Linked DNA regions of Homo sapiens: regions 2, 3 and 4 are each linked to region 1. The links are contacts of gene promoters, found by promoter capture Hi-C in human tissues and cell types (Jung and others, 2019). All regions are on one chromosome and are shown on one strand. The core of a region is centred on a gene start or on the middle of the fragment in contact, and the rest is flanking DNA. Distances in the headings are between cores, read along the strand shown. Region 1 holds the start of ZNF622 (zinc finger protein 622). Region 2 has its middle 79 kb from the start of MIR887. Region 3 overlaps MYO10 (myosin X). Region 4 has its middle 85 kb from the start of MARCHF11-AS1.

Region 1 (4,734 bases), core at 670-3,169:
AGATCTCAATTTTAGCTATTTGTTTACCACAGACTCATCTGAATGGCCATGAAACTCCTTAGTCTTTCTTTTCCAGGAAACAGGAATCTTTTCTTTGTTTCTTTCCTATGCCTTACAGCACCTAGCCCAGTGCTGAAAATATAGTTAGGAAGTCTCCTACCTGCCTGGATATTTTTATAAACTTCTAAAACAATGCCTCTATCTACTATTTCACAAAAGTACTATGGGGTGTGTGTATGTGCTGGTAGGGTGCTCTATGAACGGCTATGGTTTGAATGCATGTTTCCCTCCCAAAATTCAAATGTTGAAACTTAATCATCAATGAAATGGCATTAAGAGGTGGGGCCTTTAGTGGGTGATTAGGTTAGGCAAGCACTAATCCTGAATAAATGGATTAGTGCGAGGGAACTGGCTAGCCCCTTTTTTGCCTTCTGCTTCTTCCACCACATGATGACACCATGAGAAAACTTCATCTATAGAACAGGCCCTCACCAGACACTGACTCTGCCAGCACCTTGATTTTGGACTTCCCAATTTCCAGAACTATGGGAAAATACATTTATGTTGTTCATAAATCACCCAGTCTCTAGTACTTCCTTATAGCAGAGTGGACAGACTAAGACATGAACACCTACACCAGCACTGTTAATAGGATGTGGGATGAGGGAAGTAAGGAATAAATAGCTCATAAAGGCAAAGAGGTGAGGGTGCTGGCTCCAGCTCCAAATTTCTGGCTGAGTTGGTTTTGATCCCCTCATTCTGTTTTACTCAACTAAATTAAGTGCAAAACCATCATAACTGGAAACCCACTAGAATCGCAAATTACACGGCAGCTGGTATGACGATAGCATGTCCTCCTGTGCATATGTTAAAAGCCTCTTCATCCAAAACACAGAAGGCATCAATTCATTCTCCAAATATGCATTAAGCACTTCTTTTTCCAGACAAGGTTTTAGGCCTTGGAGAATGAATTGAGTGAACTAAACAGCCAAACCTGCTGGCCAGATAAGGCACTTCAGAAAGCGTCTAAACCACCTTCCCTCATCATTTTTACTTAAAAGCTCTCAAACACACACACACACCCATCTCGAGTATAAATCTGGAAACTTAAGGGTGGGCCAAGTTCCTCTTTACCCTCCCCGCCCAGACAGGGCCATCACCGTCTCCATCCAGGTCCTCTTCCTCCTCCTCGCTGTCCTCCTCCTGCTGCTTTGCCAACTTCTTCGCCTGCTGTTCAAACCACTGGAGCCGGGGTGGTTTCTCACTCGGGTCTCGGTCGTGGGTCCCACGGCCACCAGTACCCACGGCCACGACATTCCTGGCCTCCTTTGCAGGCGCTGGGGGCGCCTTCTTGGGAGACATGGACGGCTGGGCCTTGATGGCCTGCTGGATGGCCGCGTTCATGGCATCCTTGTCCACACTGTCCACGCCCAGTCCTTTCTCCAAGTTCTTTTCATTCATCATCTCCACTTTCCGATTCACTGCCTGCACGGCCTTCTTCTCCAGCTCAACGTGACGCCGGGACTTGAGGTGGTTCTCGTAGGCGTTGAAAGAGGCAAACTTCTTACTGCAAACGGTGCAGTAGGTGGCCGAGCCCTTGCTCTCCTCCTCCGCGACGGCCCGCTGCGCCCGCACTCGCTCCTGGAAGCCCTCGGCGGTCACTGGGGCCATGCTGGCCACCTTCCGCCGCAGGTTGTAGCGGTGCCAGTCCGTCTTATAGTGGGCCCGCTGCATGTCCGCGTCGCGGAACGCCACCCGGCAAGTTATGCAGGTGTACGTCGCCATTGCCAGGCGAGAAATAAGAACCGACCAAGCCAAACACCTGGTGATCAGCGCCGTGGCCCCACAAGACCCTCAGACCTTAACCCGCCTCAGCAGCCAGGAAGAGCCACTCGACACGCCGACTTCCTGATTGTCACTGAGGAAACTTCCGGCACACGTCGGAAGTTATTCACAACTGGACAGGAAACCCGCCTCTCAGGCTGTGGCCACGCCTCCGCCGCCGTGAGGCCCAGGAAGCCGAGGGAACGCTGTGGCTGAAAGGGACCTGGGTCCGCTCAGTCAGCCCGAGGTGGCTGTTGATTGAGGGAGGTCGCGCCCTCCCAGTTACCTTCCCTGGTGGTTGTGCCGCTCGGTGTGACGCGGTCAAGGGGACGGCTACGCGAGAATGGGGGAGTGGGGCGCCCGAGGCTGCTCCTGGGCCCTGGGAAGCCCCCGATTAATGAATGGTCGGGTCAGCGACGCGAGGGTCGGGGTTTCTCTGAGGACCGCGCGCTGCACCTGCGGAGCCGGGTGAATGGATGTCGCGAAGGCAAGGGCTGCCCTTACCCCTCGGGGCCGACCTCGGAGCCCTCGCCCGTGGTTGCAACGCTTTCCCGGGAAACCGGAGAAGCCAGGCCGGGGGCTCGGCCTTTCTGAGGCGGCCCTTCCGGCGGAGGACACCGGCGGAATTTGAGTGCACAGAGTGCGCGAGAGGAGCTCCCTGTAGACACACAGTCCAAGCCACGTAGGTAATTCTAATAGCAGCCACATTTTTAAAGAGTAAAGAGAAATCGGTGAAACTGCTTTTAATGTGTTTAATTTAGCCCATCCTGTCATTTCAGCATGTAATCAGTCTAAAAGAATTAATTAGATCTTTTACGCTCTGTCGTTGGTTCTAAGTCTTGGAAATCCAGTGTGTGTTTTAGAGTTAACAGCCCATCTCAATTTGGACTAGACCCGTGCCAGGTGCCCAGTTGGCTGTGTACCCTCATGTATATAGGACAGCAAAGTTCTGTAGAAAAGAACTTCAGGCCAGGCGCGGTGGCTCACGCCCGTAATCCCAGCACTTTGCGAGGCCGAGGCGGGCGGATCATCTGAGGTCAGGGGTTCAAGACCAGCCTGGCCAACATGGCGAAACCCAGTCTCTGCTAAAAAATACAAAAATTAGTCCCGGCGCAGTGGCGCAGACCTGTAATCCCAGCTACTTGGGAGGTTGAGGCAGGAGAATCGCTTGAACCCGGGAGGCGGAGGTTGTGGTGAGCCGAGATCGCGCCACTGCACTCCAGCCTGGGCAACAGAGCAAGATTCCATCTCAAAAGAAAAAGAAAACATGAACTTCAAATGCTTGGGGAGGTCGTAGATTTCATCCACACAGCCTGGTTGAACCAGAGTCAGCCTTGTTAGAGTCGAATGTTGCATGCTCAGAATCCAGGCTGCCAAGAGAAAACCAAAAGAAGATGGCGCTTTAAAAAACCTTCCAGTGCCTTCCCTTGACTCAATCAAATTCAAACACCTTACTTTCTATTCTCCGAGGCTCTACCCCTCCCTCTGAGGTCCTGCCACACCCCCTTCTCTACCCTGCTCACCCTACTTGAGTCGCAATGACACATTTGATGTTCTTCTAACAAGCACTTTAGTTGGTACTAAGTCAGAAAGTCAGAAATCCATTACTCTTCTGCTTGGAACATCCTTTTGCTGGCTTGCTTCCTTATTTTTTGGATCTCTGCCCAAATGCCTTTGTAAGAGAGGCTTATCCAAATCCACTTACCAAAAATAGTGCCTACCTTCCTAAGTCCTTACCAGGCATAACTTTTCTCCAGTACTGTATTAGTTATCTACTACTCTGTATTAAATTACCCCCAAATTTAGCATCAAGCTTTATTTCAGTTTCTGTATGTCAGGTATTTGAGTGACTCAGCTGGGTGGTTCTGACTAAGATCTCCTAAGAGGTTGCAGTGAACATGCTGTCCAGGGCTAAAATCATCTGAAGATCTGACTGTATTTGACTGTGGCTGGAGAGTCTCCCTTAAAGATGGTTCATTTACATAGCTGATAGCAAGAGGTTTTGGTTCCTTGACAAGTAGGCCTCTCCATAGGGCTGCTTGAGTGCAGCAGAGAGCCACATGAAATTCATAGACCTAGCATTGGAAGTCACACAGTCGTTTCCACAATGTGTTGTTACTTTTGCAGGTCAGCCCTATTTAATGTGAGAAGGGTTAACATAAGGGCATGAATACCAGGAAGTGGGAAGTGGGGGGCAGGGTGGTTTTAGGGGATCATTGGGAGATCAGCTACCACTAGCATTTGTTGTCACTGATTTCCCAGGCTTAGCACTGGAAGTCCTGCATCCCAGGAAATCCCTCAATCCTGGGCAAACCAGGATGTCTAGTCACACTGCATGTTAGTCATCTGCGTCTAGATAGAACATAAGCTCCATGACAGCAAGCACTCCTTTGTTGTATACCCTAATGCTAGAACAGTGCCAGCAGATCAACTGTTCAGTATTTGTTAAACGAATCTTTTGCAGTGCAAAAGTTAAGTCAGATGGTGATTTTTATTTCTGAAAACTTATTTTGAGATTATCAGTATCTTTTAAAATAGCTGAGCCATCTGGATACTCACTTTGAGAAATGTAGCTAGTATTAGTTGTTAACTGGAATAAGCAAAGCAGAGTATATTTTCAAGCTTCCCTAAAAAGTAAAGCAGAAGATGGCTATAAAAGTAAAGAACTTCTGGTTTTACTTTTGCCTATTATCATTCTTATATGGCTCTTCCAGCATCTGTTCTTCAGGTCACTATTTCCTCCCTGCCTCCTCTAATCTATTTTCATGTTCCTCCTATTTCAGCATCATTGAACTCTCCAGTTTCTTTACTTTTCTTCTTTAAAGGGGTATTGTTTCCTCCGCCATACTAATTTTCCAATGTACTGTTCTTCTGCAGTCTCCAAGATAACCTTACTCTTTCCCCATATCC
Region 2 (4,642 bases), core at 1,609-4,108, 450 kb before region 1:
TTGTTATTTTAACCTAATCTCATGATTCATGCCTGTTCTTAATATGGCATCTAAAATAGTAAATCTTTTCCAGAAGGTTTTCAATTTACTTTACCCAGATCCATCAGAGAAATCATTATTTATGGCAGCTGTAGCTTTACAAAAAGTATTCTTAAATAATAAGACTAGATATTTGAAATTACTCCTTGATCCATGGGTTTTAGGATGGATGTTGTGTTAACAGGCATGAAAACCGCATTAATCTCCTTGTATATCTCCATCGGAGCTCTTGAGTGACCAGGTGCATTGTTAATAAGGAATAGAATTTGGAAAAGAATCTTCTTTTCTAAACAGTAGGTCTTACCAGTGGACTTAAAATATTCAAAAAACCATATCGTAAACAGATAAGCTGTCATCCAGGTTTCGTTGTTCCATTTATAGAGGAAAGGCAGAATACATTTAATATAACTGTTAAGAGCCTTAGAAATTTGGGAATTATAAATGTGCATTAGCTTCAACTTAAAGTCCTCAGCTGCATTAGACCCTAACAAGAGACTTAACCTGTCTTCTGAAGCTTTGAAGCCAGGCATTGACTGATCTACATTGAAAATCTGTTGTTTAGTGTAGCCACCTTTACCAATGATCTTAGCTAATCTTCTCAATAACTTGCTACAACTTCTACATCAGCACTTACAGCTTCACCTTGTACTTTCATGTTCTGGAAATCACTTCTTTCCTTAAACCTGATGATCCATCCTCTGCTAGCTTCAAACTTTTCTACTGCAACTTCCTCACCTCTCCTCAGCCTTCATAGAATTGAAGACAGTTAGGGCCATGCTCTGGATTGGGCTCTGACTTAAGGGAATGTTGTTGCCAGTTTGATCTTCTTTCTAGACCACTAAAACTTCCCTTGTATTAGCAGGGAGGCTGTTTTCCTTTATATCATTTGTGTGCTCACTGGAATGGGTCTTTTAATTTCCTTCAGGAACATTTTCTTTGCATTCACAACTTGTCTAACTGTTTGACTTAAGAGGCCTAGCTTTCAGCCTATCTTGGCTTTCAATATGCCTTTCTCACTAAGCTTTTGATTTAAAGTGAGAGACATGCCACTCATTCTTTCACCTAAACATTTAGAGGCTACTGTAGGCTTACTAACTGGCATAATTTCAATATTTTGTGTCTCAGGGGATAGGGACGACTGAGAAGAGGGAGAGAGATGGGGAAACAGCTGGTCAGTGGAGTAGTCAGAACACACATTTATGGGTTAAATTTTCTGTTTTATATGGGTATGACTCATAATGCCCCAAAGCAATTACCATAGGAACACTAAAGATCACTGGTCACAGATCATCATAACAAATATAGTAATAATGAAAAAGTTTGTAATTTTGTGAGAATCACTAAAATGTGACACAGAGACATGAAGTGAGTCCATGCTGTTGGAAAAATGGCATCAGTAGACTTGCTTGACACAGGGTTGCCCTAATCCTTCAATTATTAAAAAAAATAAATAAAGCAAAGTGCAATCAAATGAGGTATGCCTGTATTCTGCCTTGCACCTATAATTCTGGCTGACTGATGCAGGCAGTGAGTCACCTAGCAACGGATGCCAAGGAACCAAATCCACCTATTTCCAAGGAGATGGAGTTAAGCTTCTTTAGGGAAGCCACGGTTAGAGATGACAGCTCACTCTGAATATGTGGCACATATTCTATGTACAGCTCTGCCCTAGACCACTCACTTTTATCAGATTTGGAAGACCTGGTGGAATCTGAGGCCATAGCAACCCAACCAAAATGGGTTCAATTTGTGTGTTGGAGAAATGTGTATCCATTTCACCTCCATGAAAAATGAGCTCTTGTGTCTGAGAAGCCATTTTTTGCCATGGGAATCTGAAGAACAGTGGTTAAGGGGGCTCAGTTGGCGGTGTGAATCTTCAGCTTTCTTCATTCCTAATTGTTTGACTTTGGGAAAAGTTCTTAATCTCACTAAACCTGATGCTACTAATCTGTAAACAAGGGCTATAATAGTACCCACCTCGTAGGCAGAGAGCCATTTTGAGGTTCAAATAACAGCTATTGTTATGATTCAGGGTCAAGCAGAATGTAATCAGCTGGATTGCAGGAGAATAGGTTTAGAGTTGACATAAAAAGGAATGTCTCTGCAGGAAGAGTTACAAATATTACCGTGAAAATTTATAGAAACTCCTTCCATGAAGACTTTGGCAATAATGCTGACTATAAAATTACGTGATGGTTGTTTCTGGCCACTCAAGATTTTACACAGTCAAGTAAGTGGCTGTCATCCCCTCAAAGTTACCACCTTGGAGATTTATACCCTGATTCCAATGATATTGCTTTTTAGCAAACTTTCTTTGGTATCTCATCACTAAAATGGCCTTCAGAGCATGTAATGTTTTCCCTTCAACATCCCTTTATAGAGTAAAACCGTCATCCTAGAGCTGATCTGACTTTTAGAAACAAACAAAAGTCATTCAAAACCAGTAAAGAGAAGGGACTATACAATGAGAAAGAATCATATGTAGCACTGAGATTTGCATTCACGCGTTCTTTACATGAAGAGATTAGAAACGAAAAGGACTTCTTTACATCTTATATATGATGCTTTAGCTGCAAATGCCCTGGAACCTGTTTTTTTCTTGGATAGTTGACACACAATTGTTTATCATGTTTTCTATCCTTTGTGGCGGGCCTGAAATATAATAAAAAGTCTTTTTAAAAGACTAATTTTTGAAACAAAAAAACCAATTGGGAATCTGGCTTCCCCAAAAGCCACTCCTTCTTAACTGCTTCCAGAATCTCATAATTTGCTTCCCTAACTCTCTCATGATTTGGTCACATCCAGAGCCTATTTAATGGGAAATATTTCTAATCTCCCTTAACAGATGGATTCTATCTGTTTAAGACTCACACCTGATTAGCGGAGAGCCTTATCTAGTGAGGATTGCCAATGATTAAACTTCCACTGCTTTTGCTACCAGAATCTCACATTTCCAACCAACTGCCACAGGACACACTCACATTCCTGGTGGATATTTAGATGAATACTAATGACTGATCCGTGTGCCAAATCACAGGTTGCTAACTGTCCTCTGCAACATTGGTGTTACTGCCATTCTCATGAACCAAGTTAGTTCATCCCAGAGGGACCAAACCCAAGAGTGAATTAGGCAGATGAGTTGGAAGGGAATGCAGAATCCACTAAGAGCAAAAAAATTGTGTGGAGAGTCCCCAAAGTTTCCTAAGCCAAGAATTTTATCCTTTTTTTTGGATCTGCTTCTCCAGCCTCCCTCCACCCCAGCACATTCACATTTTCTCTGAAATCCTCCACGGAGCAGTATCACCTCAGGACTTGTGTTCTGGGTAAAGAACTCCCCAATGCAAGCAAAGCCTGCCTTGATCATAATACCCAGGTCTTCTAAAATGTCTCTGCTAAGGTCACTTAAGGTCACTTGTCTGGACAAGTGTCTACACTATGACTGATGACCTGGAGGCTCTGTATGACTGTGCTGGCTGTAAAACTGTGGGGCAATTGGTCTGGCTGAGTACTGGGCCCTCTGTCCCTGTTGGGCAGAGTCCTGGCTACTTTCAACCTCGATCTGAAGCTCTCCTCAGGGACGGGTTCCCACTTGCAGCTCTCTCTCTGGTGAGAAAGAACAATGCGAGGAGAGGCTCTGGCCCCTAATATTTCTGAGTTTGGCTACAATTTGTTGATGGGTCACACAGGTGGTACCCTCCCTCACTCTTACCCCTGCATGGAAGTCCCTGCTAATTGATCCAAACTATCTTTCCTGGTGAAGATGGAGTCATTCTCTAAATTATATTTGCATAACAGTTTTCGAAACCACAATCAATCAATAGGTGTTAGCATGCAAAATGAAACATATTTGCTCTCAAGATTCTTGGCCAGATCCAAGGAGCTCAGAAAGCATAAGCTCTATGAGCTGCTTCCTCCCATATTTTTTTAAATGACAAGAAACATATTCATAATATGCATAAACATCTAAATGTTACTGCTGTAGAATCAGAACGTCTGAAAAGTTAGAACAACTTTGGAGACTTCATTTTGCAGAAGAGGAAATGGAGTCCTATGGTAAAGTTTCTCTCTCTCTCTCTCTCTCTCTCTCTCTCTGTAGCTATTGGGCATCTGAAGCCCTCTTACAAATGGGAAATTCCTCAGCTCATGAGTCTCAGTAGGAAGCAAAGCTTGATTTTCACTCTAGATGCTGAAAACCTCAAACTTTCACCTTCTCAGCCTCCCTTGCAGCTAAGTATGGGCACATGACCAAGGCTGCACTAATCTGAAGTACCTATTCCAAATTCTGAATTGGGAGCTTGAGATGTAAAAAGGTAGGGAGATTCCCTTCTGATGGTGGGCAGTGGCAGTCGTGATTTCAGGAGCTCCAGGCTTGATGCTGCAATGCAGTATTCTTGCTCAGTTCTGGCAACAGCAATGGTGTCCTCCCTGACTGGTTTTGTTGTGTGGTTTGCTTACAGTCCTAGTTGCTTCCAGGACCTCATGTTCCTGAGCATTTTCCAAGCTTGTCCTATGCCCTTCGTGGTTGTCCCGAGAGCTACTTCATGTCTTCTTAATAAAATACTTACCTGCTTAAGTCAGCCAAAGTTTTAGTTTTTTTGTTCTT
Region 3 (4,528 bases), core at 418-2,917, 330 kb after region 1:
GTGCGAGGATCTCAAGATCAGGAGACCAAGACCACCCTGGCTAACAGAGTGAAACCCCGTCTCTACTAAAAATACAAAAAATTAGCCAGGCCCGGTGGCACACACCTGTAATCCCAGCTACTCGGGAGGCTGAGGCAGGAGAATCTCTTGAACCTGGGAGGTGGAGGTTGCAGTGAGCCAAGATTGCGCCACTGCACTCCAACCTGGGCGACAGAGCGAGACTCTGTCAAAAAAAAAAAAAAAAAGAAAGAACAGAGAGAGAGCGAGAAAGAGAAAGAGCGAGCGTGCGAGAGAGAGAGAGAGAGAAAGAAAGAAGGAAAGAAAGAAAGAAGAAAAGAAAGAAGGAAAGAAAGGGAAAGAGAGGAAGAAAGGAAAGAAAGGGAAAGAGAGGAAGAAAGGAAAGAAAGGGAAGAAAAAGAAAAGAACAGAACACAACACAAAAGAAAAAGAAAGGAAAGAAAGGAAAAAGAAAGAAAAGAAAGACAGAAAGAAAGAAAGAAAGAAAGAAAGAAAAGAAAAGAAAAGAAAGAAAGAAAGAAGGAAAATAAATAAATAAATAGAGGCTACAGAGTTACCAAAGCTTAATGCCTTAGGCCTCTCCATGTGGACATAACTATTCACTTCTACTTTTACAGGAAATACTAACTCTGATTACCTGGCTTCCAGGCTCAGACACAACTAGGGAAGTCAGTCAGACAGGGGTGGGAGCAGAGAGTCCTGCAACCACCATCAACCACTAACCACCAACCAACTTTTACAAAGCTCGTACAGTGTGTCTAGGGCTTTATGGGCTGTTAAGGGCTGATTCATGCCTTCTCCCCAAATTCACATGCTGAAGCCCTAATCCCAAGTACTTAAGAATGTTACTATGCTTGGAGATAGGGGCTTTAAATAAGTGACTAACTTAAAATGAGGCCATTAGGGTGGGCCCTAATCCAATCTGACTGGTGTCTTTGTTAGAAGAGGAAATTTGAACACACAAAAAGACACCAGGGATGCATACACCCAGGGGGGTTGGCGGAGGGTAACAAAAAACAAGAAAACTAGACAGAAAGTCCAAACATCCTGAGAGCATCTATACCATATTATAGCAATTTGTAATATTTTATATTCATAGTATCAGCCAGGAACATCAAGCAAAGTATTGTTTTGTTCAGTATAACTTTTCAAATGCAAATAAGTCCATACAGGTTGAGTATCACTAATCCGAAAACCAAAATCTGAAATGCTGTAAAATCTGAAGCTTTTTGAGCACCAACATGATGCTGAAAAGAAATGTTCATGGGGGCATTTCAGATTTCAGATTTTCTGATGAGGGATGCCCAACTGGTAAGTATAATGCAGATACTTCTAAATCAGAGAAAATATCAGAAGTCCAAAACACTTCAGGTCCCAAGCATTCTGGATAAGGGTTACTCAACCTGGAATGTGTTTTGGAAATAATATGAAGCAAAAGATTTAAAAAAAGGTTAAAAACATAAAAGATATTACCATATGACCCAGCGATTCCACTCCTAGATACATATCAAAAAGAAGCGAAAGAAAATACTCAAACACTTGTACACACATGTTCACAGAAGCACCATTCACAACAGCCAAAGGTGGAAACAATGCCAAGGGCCCATCATCAGATGAATGGATGTGGCATACCCACACCATGTAATATTACTTAGCCACAAAAAGGAATAAAGTGCTGATCCATGCTACAATGTGAATGAGCCTTGGAGACATATTAAGCCAGACACAAAAGTTCACATATCCAGAATAGGTTAAGTCCATAGAAACAGCAAGATGGGTGGTTGCTAAAAGCAGACAGTGGCAGGAGAGGGGAATGACTGCTTCACTGGTACAGGGTTTCCACCTAAGGTGATAAAAATATTGTAGAACTAAGATACAGGTTGTATGGTTTGAATGTTTGTCCCCTCCTAAACTTGTGTTGAAATTTAATTGCCATTGTAACAGTATTAGGAAGGTGATTACAAAGGTAAGAGCTGATTATGTCATGGGGCTCTGCTCTCATAATGGATTAATGCCATTATTGCAGGAGTGAGTTAGTTATTGCAGAGTGGGCTCTTAATAAAAGAGTAAGTTCGACATGCATTCTCTCTGTCTCACACTCAAGCTTTCTCATCATGTGATGCCTCAGGCCATGACACAGCAAGAGGGTCCCACCAGATGCCAGCGCCATGCTCTTGGACTGGCCAGTCTCCAGAACCATAAGCCAAGTAAACTTTTGCTCCTTATAAATTACCCAGTGTGTGGTATCCTGTTTTGGCAGCAGAAAGCATACTGAAACAGAGTTGTTGGTTGTACAGCATTGTGAATGTACTAAATGCCACTGAGTTGTACACTTCAAAATGGTTAATTTTATGTTAAATGAATTTCACCTTAATTAGAAAAAAAAGATCTGGTGCTTTTATGAGTAAATGTTCAGGTCCTTGGAAACATCAACTCTCTAGAAAACCCATTTTGTCCTGTCGGAGCACTATGGGGAAGATTTGGCCAGAAAAAAAAAGATGGAAGTTGGAAAAAAAAAAGTGTCCTACTCCTTGGGATGCCTCCATCCTCCATCAGTGCCTGGACCACAGACACTCCAGTGCCTCCTTCTATCTAACATCTGCAGAGGTGAGGGAGCAGGCAGACAATACTTGAGGCTGTGAGTGCCTGGCCCCTTCCACTACTTTGTTTAAAATGCCATGTTTGTTTTCTACCTTTTTGATAGTTGTTTACATTATTTTCTTTTTTCTGCTAAGTATCAAAAATGTTCATTTTTACTGTGAAATACATTCTTATTTTTTTCCCTACTGTGACAGGACTGTCACTCTTTATGCAGCCAGGTAGGTCAGAGGAAGCTGACAAGCAACAGTCAACACTGCCAACCATCAACACGGCGGGCTCAACTGAGCACACACCAATCCTCTTCCTCAGTTGCAAGCAGAGGGTGAAAGCCACAGTCATGGGCATTAAGCTTATTATTAAATTTAATTAATTTATTATTAGGATATTCACCCATCATTAACACACCTTTTAAAAAATGATATGCCCATATCATTTTGCATGCCCCATTCATGACACGTTTGTATGGTTGCTGTAAAATTCTAAGATGAGCCTTTCTTTCTTAAGGCACTGATTTACTTATAAAACCATTATTAAAACTTCTTACACAGCTTTCTTCAAAAGAATGATCATGTTTTTTAAACCATATTCCTCCTCCTGGTTGGGGAACCTCACTAGCCATAGAGCATCCTTTTAAGATACTGCTCGTTCTGACAGTGTGGATGACATGGGCTTTGAATGAAGGTAGAAGACAAAGTGGCATTAAGCCTGTTAGCAAAGGTGAAGACGCAACATCCAAAATGGTCTCATGCTTGACTTTTTACAGTAATTCACACCACACCTTGTCCAGTGAAATAGTTTTTAAATGTTTCAGAATGACAATGTAGTAGCTGTGGCAACTAGAGACAACATATGCAACCCAGAAATCAATGTCCACAGGTCCTCTTCCACCAGAATCAGCAGTGCTTTAGAAGAGAAATACTTTTTTTTTTTTTTGAGACTGAGTCTCGCTCTGTCATCCAGGCTGGAGAACAGTGGCACAATCTCGGCTCACTGCAACCTTCGCCTCCCGTGTTCAAGCGATTCTCCTGTCTCAGCTTCCCAAGTAGCTGGGATAACAGGTGTGTGCCCCTACGCCCACCTAATTTTTGCATTTCTACTAGAGACGGGATTTCATATATTTTGGCCAGGCTGGCCTCAAACTCCTGACCTCAGGTGATCCACCCACCTCAGCCTCCCAAAGTGCTGGGATTACAGATATGAACCACTGTGCCCGGCTGAGAAAGGACTCTTAACAGCGGACGCTCCCTGGGGAGGCAGCCCACAGACTCTGCAGAATTATGTGGCATCCTTGCTGATGGTCACGCAGCTCACAAAAGGCATCGGGATACTCTCCTCTGCTAAGCCGAGTCCCTGCCACCCCACACTACTGCCACCAATCAATTCTGAGTCACCATCTTTCAGAAGAAAAGATAATCGGGCATGCTGTGAAACAGAACACTTTACCAGATGGCCTCAAAAAGCACACGGTTCGAGAGTGAAAGACCAAAACCATCCAGCTGGTTTAGTTATAGAAGATGTTAATCATGGCCAATGACCAGCACAGCTCTGGTGGTTGCACACTTTTCCTACAATAATATTGATCTTTGTATCTGACTCTTACAATAAAATGCATGCTTCATCTGTCAGTCAGCCTAGTGAGTTACCATGAAAAAAATATGGTCCCTCATTACTACACATTGTCAATAAATTTAAAATCCCGGCCAGCTACGGTGGGTCATGACTATAATCCCAGCACTTTTGGAGGCCAAGGTGGGAGAACTGCCTGAGCCAAGGAGTTCAAGACCAGCCTGGGCAATATAGGAAGACCCCATCTCTACTTAAAAATATATTTTTAAAATTCTGCATAAATATTAATAACAGACTGTTGCTGCTTTAGGCAAGAAAGCCTTGATTGTTCCCGTTTTGATGA
Region 4 (4,912 bases), core at 271-2,770, 420 kb before region 1:
TCCCTGCTGTTCCTCCTCATGATAGGAGTGTTTTCACTGAAGAATGAGTCACACAGAACAGAAGGTTTCCACACATCTAGTACACTTTTAAATTCATCTCATACAGATGAAAAATAATATGCCTGTGGATTTAGCTATTCAATTAATAAACACACTTGAAGCAACACATGGGTGTCTGGACGTCTTATGATGGCCTCCCTTATCCTGGTAACATATGATTAGACCCCCTCCCCTCTGCCCCCACAGCCCTGGGGCCTACTGTTCCCCAGACTTCTCATACTGTCTTGGACATAGGCTGCCTGTTGGGTGTGTCCTTGCTGTCAGGGACTGTAACTTCTTCATTGCTGTAATTCATGTATCCATCATGTCTTGCCTATAATAGGTGCTCAATAAATATTTTTTTGGAATGCATAAATACATAGTTCTTTTTTTTTTTTGACAGAGTCTTGCTCTTTCACCTAGGCTGGAGTGCAGTGGCATGATTTTGGCTCACTGCAATCTTCACCTCCTGAGTTCAAGTGATTCTCCTGCCTCAGCCTCCCAAGTAGCTGGGACTACAGGCATGCACCACCATGCTAGGCTAATTTTTTGGTATTTTTAGTAGAGACGGGGCTTCACCATGTTGGTCTGGCTGGTCTTGAACTCCTGACCTCAAATGATCCTCCCACCTAGGCCTCCCAAAGTGCTGGGATGACAGGCTTGAACCACCATGCCCGGTTGGAATGGATAAATGCATAGTTCTGTATCTAGCTCCTCCCTTCTCCTACCAAAGATGTTTTCAAGTACAGATGATTTGGAAATGACTAGCCTAGGCTGTGAAATTGATAGTAATGCAAGGTCTTCAGAGAGAGGGGTACAGAGGAGAAGTAGGGCTCTAAGTGAGCTCCCCTAGAGGTGCCAGTATAAAAACACACAAGGTTGGTTTCAGGACACCTTTTCATGGGCTCTGATTGAGCAAGTTTTGGGGGACAGTCATGGACATTATGTTCAGTGTGGAGGGTTGAGTGGTCAGTGTAGGCAGAAACCTTCAGTGAAGATAGCGGGGCTTTGGCTAGTCCTTGCCTGAGGGTGCTGCAGGACATGACTTTCATGTGGTACCTGGGACAGAGTAAAAGGCACTATTCCCAACACTGTAAGGGCCACATTGGCTATCTGAGGATGAACCAGATGCACCTAGGATGTGGGCAGCCTGCCTGGGCTGCTGATCCCAAATGGCTGTATAACAAGGACTGGCTCCTTCAGCTCAACTTCTGGCCAAGCCACAGGGAGACTCTCCCTCTCAAGCTTCTTCTAGAAGAAATTTACTCATTGCTATTTAAACTGAATAAAAAGACACACTGGGAAATTTCAAGCCTATCATTGTGGATATGAAATTGGGCATTAGGGCACAAAAGGAGCCCAGGGCATTGGCCTTTTGAGAGTCTGGGGTTGCTTTTTGTTCACACATCTTGGGTCTACCAATCTGGGGTGTTGTAGACTTTTAGGCAGGCCCTTCTCATCCTAAGGAATAGTTAAGAAATCCTAGAGGGCTCAGTCTGAGCCCAGTATGGAATAAATAAGAGCTCCCCAAGGGAAGCAGGTTCTGACTTATGTTGTTGGAAAATGACCCATGAGTCATTTTCTAACTAATGATAGCAAATCATTAGTTTCGAGAGGGTCTTTGATCCTGAATTAGATCACATGTGTGAAGCTCATTCCTTCCTTTTCATAAAAGTCCCTGTGGCCCTTAAGCATTAAGGTGGGGGGTGGGGGCGCAGAGAGGAGGATACAGAGAACGTTCTCCAGTAGTTTGCCAATAAGGTAAACTTCTAGGAGAGAGGACTCCTAGCTCAGAAAGGTCATCCTGAGGCGATAACTTGGAGAATGGACAACTTGCTTGTCTCTGTCTGGTTGTTTGACATCCCTCCTGCTTTTGCACCATGGTTTGTGACCTTGACCTTGGATAGTTTTTCTTTACAGAATGGATCCTGATGCCCACCCTGTGCAGTCAACTCAGCAGTAAAATAAACAATGAATTAGCCATCACATGTTAACACTGTAAAGTTCTCAAAAATGAGAAATATACAAAAAGTGCAAGGTAATAGTGTGTCGGATATAGGCATAGAATCAACTTTTCTTGCTGGGTAGAAATAAATCAAAAACAGACACTTCCCTTGATCATAGATGAGGAGGTATCTGGGGCTGGATAACAGCAGGTTGCTGAATCTAAAATGCACATAAAATCCAATTGTAAATTGGCTGACTACAGAATGGGACTGGATTCACTTATTGCTAATTAGGATGAATAAAAGGAGACACTGTGAGATGTGAAGCTTGGGATTATGGGTAGGGGAAGCCATTTGATGGAGGAAATGTATTTTTCCTGATGTTTTGGAAAATCACTTCGTGTAATGTCTGGTTCATTACTTATGCCCTGAAATATGCACGAAGTAAGAACCAAGGATATTTCTGATAAAACCACATTCCATGAAACCCAATCCAAAGGGGCCTTAAGGATCCACGCTGGGAAAAGTGAGTGAGTTTAGCTCCCTATTTAAAAATGACTTTTTTGGCCTGGGCTGTATGGAAAGACATTTTTCCTTCTGCCCCAAGTGATAAAATACACATCACTGAGCAATGCTCTGGATACTGTTAGCTGAGGCTGGTGTGAGGTCCGGATAGTCCATTTGATTATTCATTTTATTTGTACCTCCTGGTACTAACTTGTCTGTCTTAGGGTGAACTCACTATTCCTTTACTCTATCTAGAAAGGAAATGAACTGCCAGGCTCATGCAAGGTAGGGGAGACTAGGGAGGTGTAAGGACAGAAGAAATCAGCTAGATGTTGGGCATAACATAGCAGAATCTTCTATGGAAATTCTTACTCCATAATGTTGGAACACCCCTTTTCCCCAACTTTCTGGCCAGAGGTAAGCTAGGAGAGTTATTTTAATCTTAACTCTATTTAGGGCATTGGAGTGTTCCAAACAGAAGATTATTTGCTGGGCATTTTAAACAATTGATTCCACATGGATTCCCTCCGCATCATTTTTGGAATTGTTTTCTCTAGACGTGTTCTAAAGATAGAATGTACATATTCACTAAAGATTGAAGGATGCTGAAATATTAAGCAGCCAGAATGGCAAATGTTGTCACATTCTGGTTTCAATCGGGCAAATGGCTTCAATTCTTGTGTTTTTCTTGGTGTTTCAATGAGGCATCTAAGACAGTAACTCTGGCAGAGTAGGGCCCACAGGAGGAATAATGAGGAAAAATTATCTATACCTTTGCTCAAGTGCATACTTTGAGAATATTTTGTGATAGTAATACATGACTTTTACTTCAAATTAGTTTTTGGAGAACTGGAATGAGAAATGTAGACTGCGTGTATGTGTGTGTGTGTGTGTGTGAGAGAGAGAGAGTTGCTGGTGATAAAGCCAAGACTAAAAACTAAAGCCTGATTTCCACCCATGCCTTTTCTCATGCCCTTTCTTCCAAGTGGTTATCTTCCAATAATCACCATACAGAGGTGAATGTAAAGACAACTGGTAGAGCCCCAGCACTGATCAAACAGAATGATCACCAGTATAAACGTCCACAATGACTGTAGGTAGGCATCAGGCTGATCATCAGCCATAAACTGATGTTCCAGAGACTCTATACCCTTACTACACCTATGGCCAGAGGGGAAGTACATGTGTTATCTTGCTCTCTGTGTCGTTAGACACAGATATCTTGGCCACAACAGATTGTACCAGAGATTTGTTTCTCAGGTAAAGGCCACATGATGTATACGGTAGACCTGTGGTTGACAAGGTGGTCAAGTGCCAAATACACATGCTCCTTTCTTTGGACAAAGAGCAGCCAACCCAATGAGAGCCTCTCTGTAGAGGAGTTGAATGAGTGACACAAGAAGTAGAGAAAAGAAATAGAGGCAGGGAAGTTGTTGTGAAACTCCAAGAGTAGAAAAAGAAGCAGCTAGAAAAGAGGTTGAGAATGACAAATTCACTAGAGTGGGTCCCAATAGGTGCTATTGACAAAGAGGACAAGAGGACATAGACCTCCTAAGGATCTGTAATGCTGCTTCAGTTCTCCAAGACAATGACTATGGGAGGTGGTCTTCTGAGCCTCCTTACTTCCCCAAGTCTTCACTGTTAACTTCCTATCACTTACACTATCACAAGACTGTCTCTCCTCCATGTAATGCAAAATAATAATAACTACAATAATCAAATGCTTTCTACATGCCAAATGTTTAAGTAGATTGTTTTAGCTAATTATTTCAAAAACTCTACGAAGTCAGTATCATAATTCTGATATCTATTTTACAGATGAGAAAATGGAAGAAAAAGGGAGTCAAGTACGATGGTAGCCTTCTTACTAAAAGCAAGAAGTATCCACAATTAATTAATTGAAAACGCCAATTAAAACTGGGAATTGTTAAAAGCTGATTTATGCAAATCTTAAACTTTTTTTTTTAAAACATATGAATGTACAATTTGGCAAGGACTTTTCTTTCAGTAGAGGGTCTGCTAATTGCAATTCAGCACTGCTTTTCTGGAAGAAACCACACACATAACATATGCTCACCATTATCTAGTTTTAGTTCCTTTAATGTGAAGTAAACCTGGAGATATGTGTAAAGAAATCTGATGCAGAATCCTTCTAGATTTCTTTTTCACTGTTCTCTAATATATTACAGTTATTTTTCCAGTGCCCAATTTGCATGGCTTGCTCATATCCTGTCCTTCCAATACATTCAGCCTAGTTTTCACTGGGGAAAAAAGCATTCTTTTCACATTCAGATTTCATCATTAGTTATCACATATAATTAAATTATGTGATGACAACTAGTATTAAGAGATCTGAGAACTAACTGTTAGACAATTCACCTGGTAAGAGGAGAAGTGTGTGAGTCTACCATAGAGGATGT

Evidence for each region. The method cuts DNA at HindIII sites, captures the fragments that hold promoters and counts their contacts. A contact is called where the count stands out against the background at its distance.
Region 2: a contact is called between a fragment that was not itself captured here and the fragment with the promoter of ZNF622 in region 1, in 1 of the 25 tissues and cell types used here (mesendoderm cells).
Region 3: a contact is called between a fragment that was not itself captured here and the fragment with the promoter of ZNF622 in region 1, in 1 of the 25 tissues and cell types used here (dorsolateral prefrontal cortex).
Region 4: a fragment that was not itself captured here is called in contact with the fragment with the promoter of ZNF622 in region 1 in 2 of the 25 tissues and cell types used here (H1 embryonic stem cells and dorsolateral prefrontal cortex).

The regions. Positions count from the first base shown.
Region 1 is chr5:16,463,881-16,468,614 of GRCh38, forward strand. ZNF622 (zinc finger protein 622) reads right to left here and starts at 1,920. Exons shown (of 6, transcript NM_033414.3): 1 at 1,161-1,920. The coding sequence starts at 1,785. RefSeq lists enhancers at 1,228-1,297, 3,580-3,639, 3,670-3,759 and a silencer at 3,105-3,327. The HindIII fragment of the contact is 5,798 bases long and covers 1-4,041 here.
Region 2 is chr5:16,012,281-16,016,922 of GRCh38, forward strand. No RefSeq gene overlaps it. Among named protein-coding and RNA genes, the nearest start is that of MIR887, 79 kb to the left of the region's middle. The HindIII fragment of the contact is 3,027 bases long and covers 1,346-4,372 here.
Region 3 is chr5:16,795,959-16,800,486 of GRCh38, forward strand. The region is part of intron 3 of MYO10 (myosin X); the gene reads right to left. Among named protein-coding and RNA genes, the nearest start is that of MYO10, 140 kb to the right of the region's middle. The HindIII fragment of the contact is 4,165 bases long and covers 1-3,750 here.
Region 4 is chr5:16,041,302-16,046,213 of GRCh38, forward strand. No RefSeq gene overlaps it. Among named protein-coding and RNA genes, the nearest start is that of MARCHF11-AS1, 85 kb to the right of the region's middle. The HindIII fragment of the contact is 5,341 bases long and covers 1-4,191 here.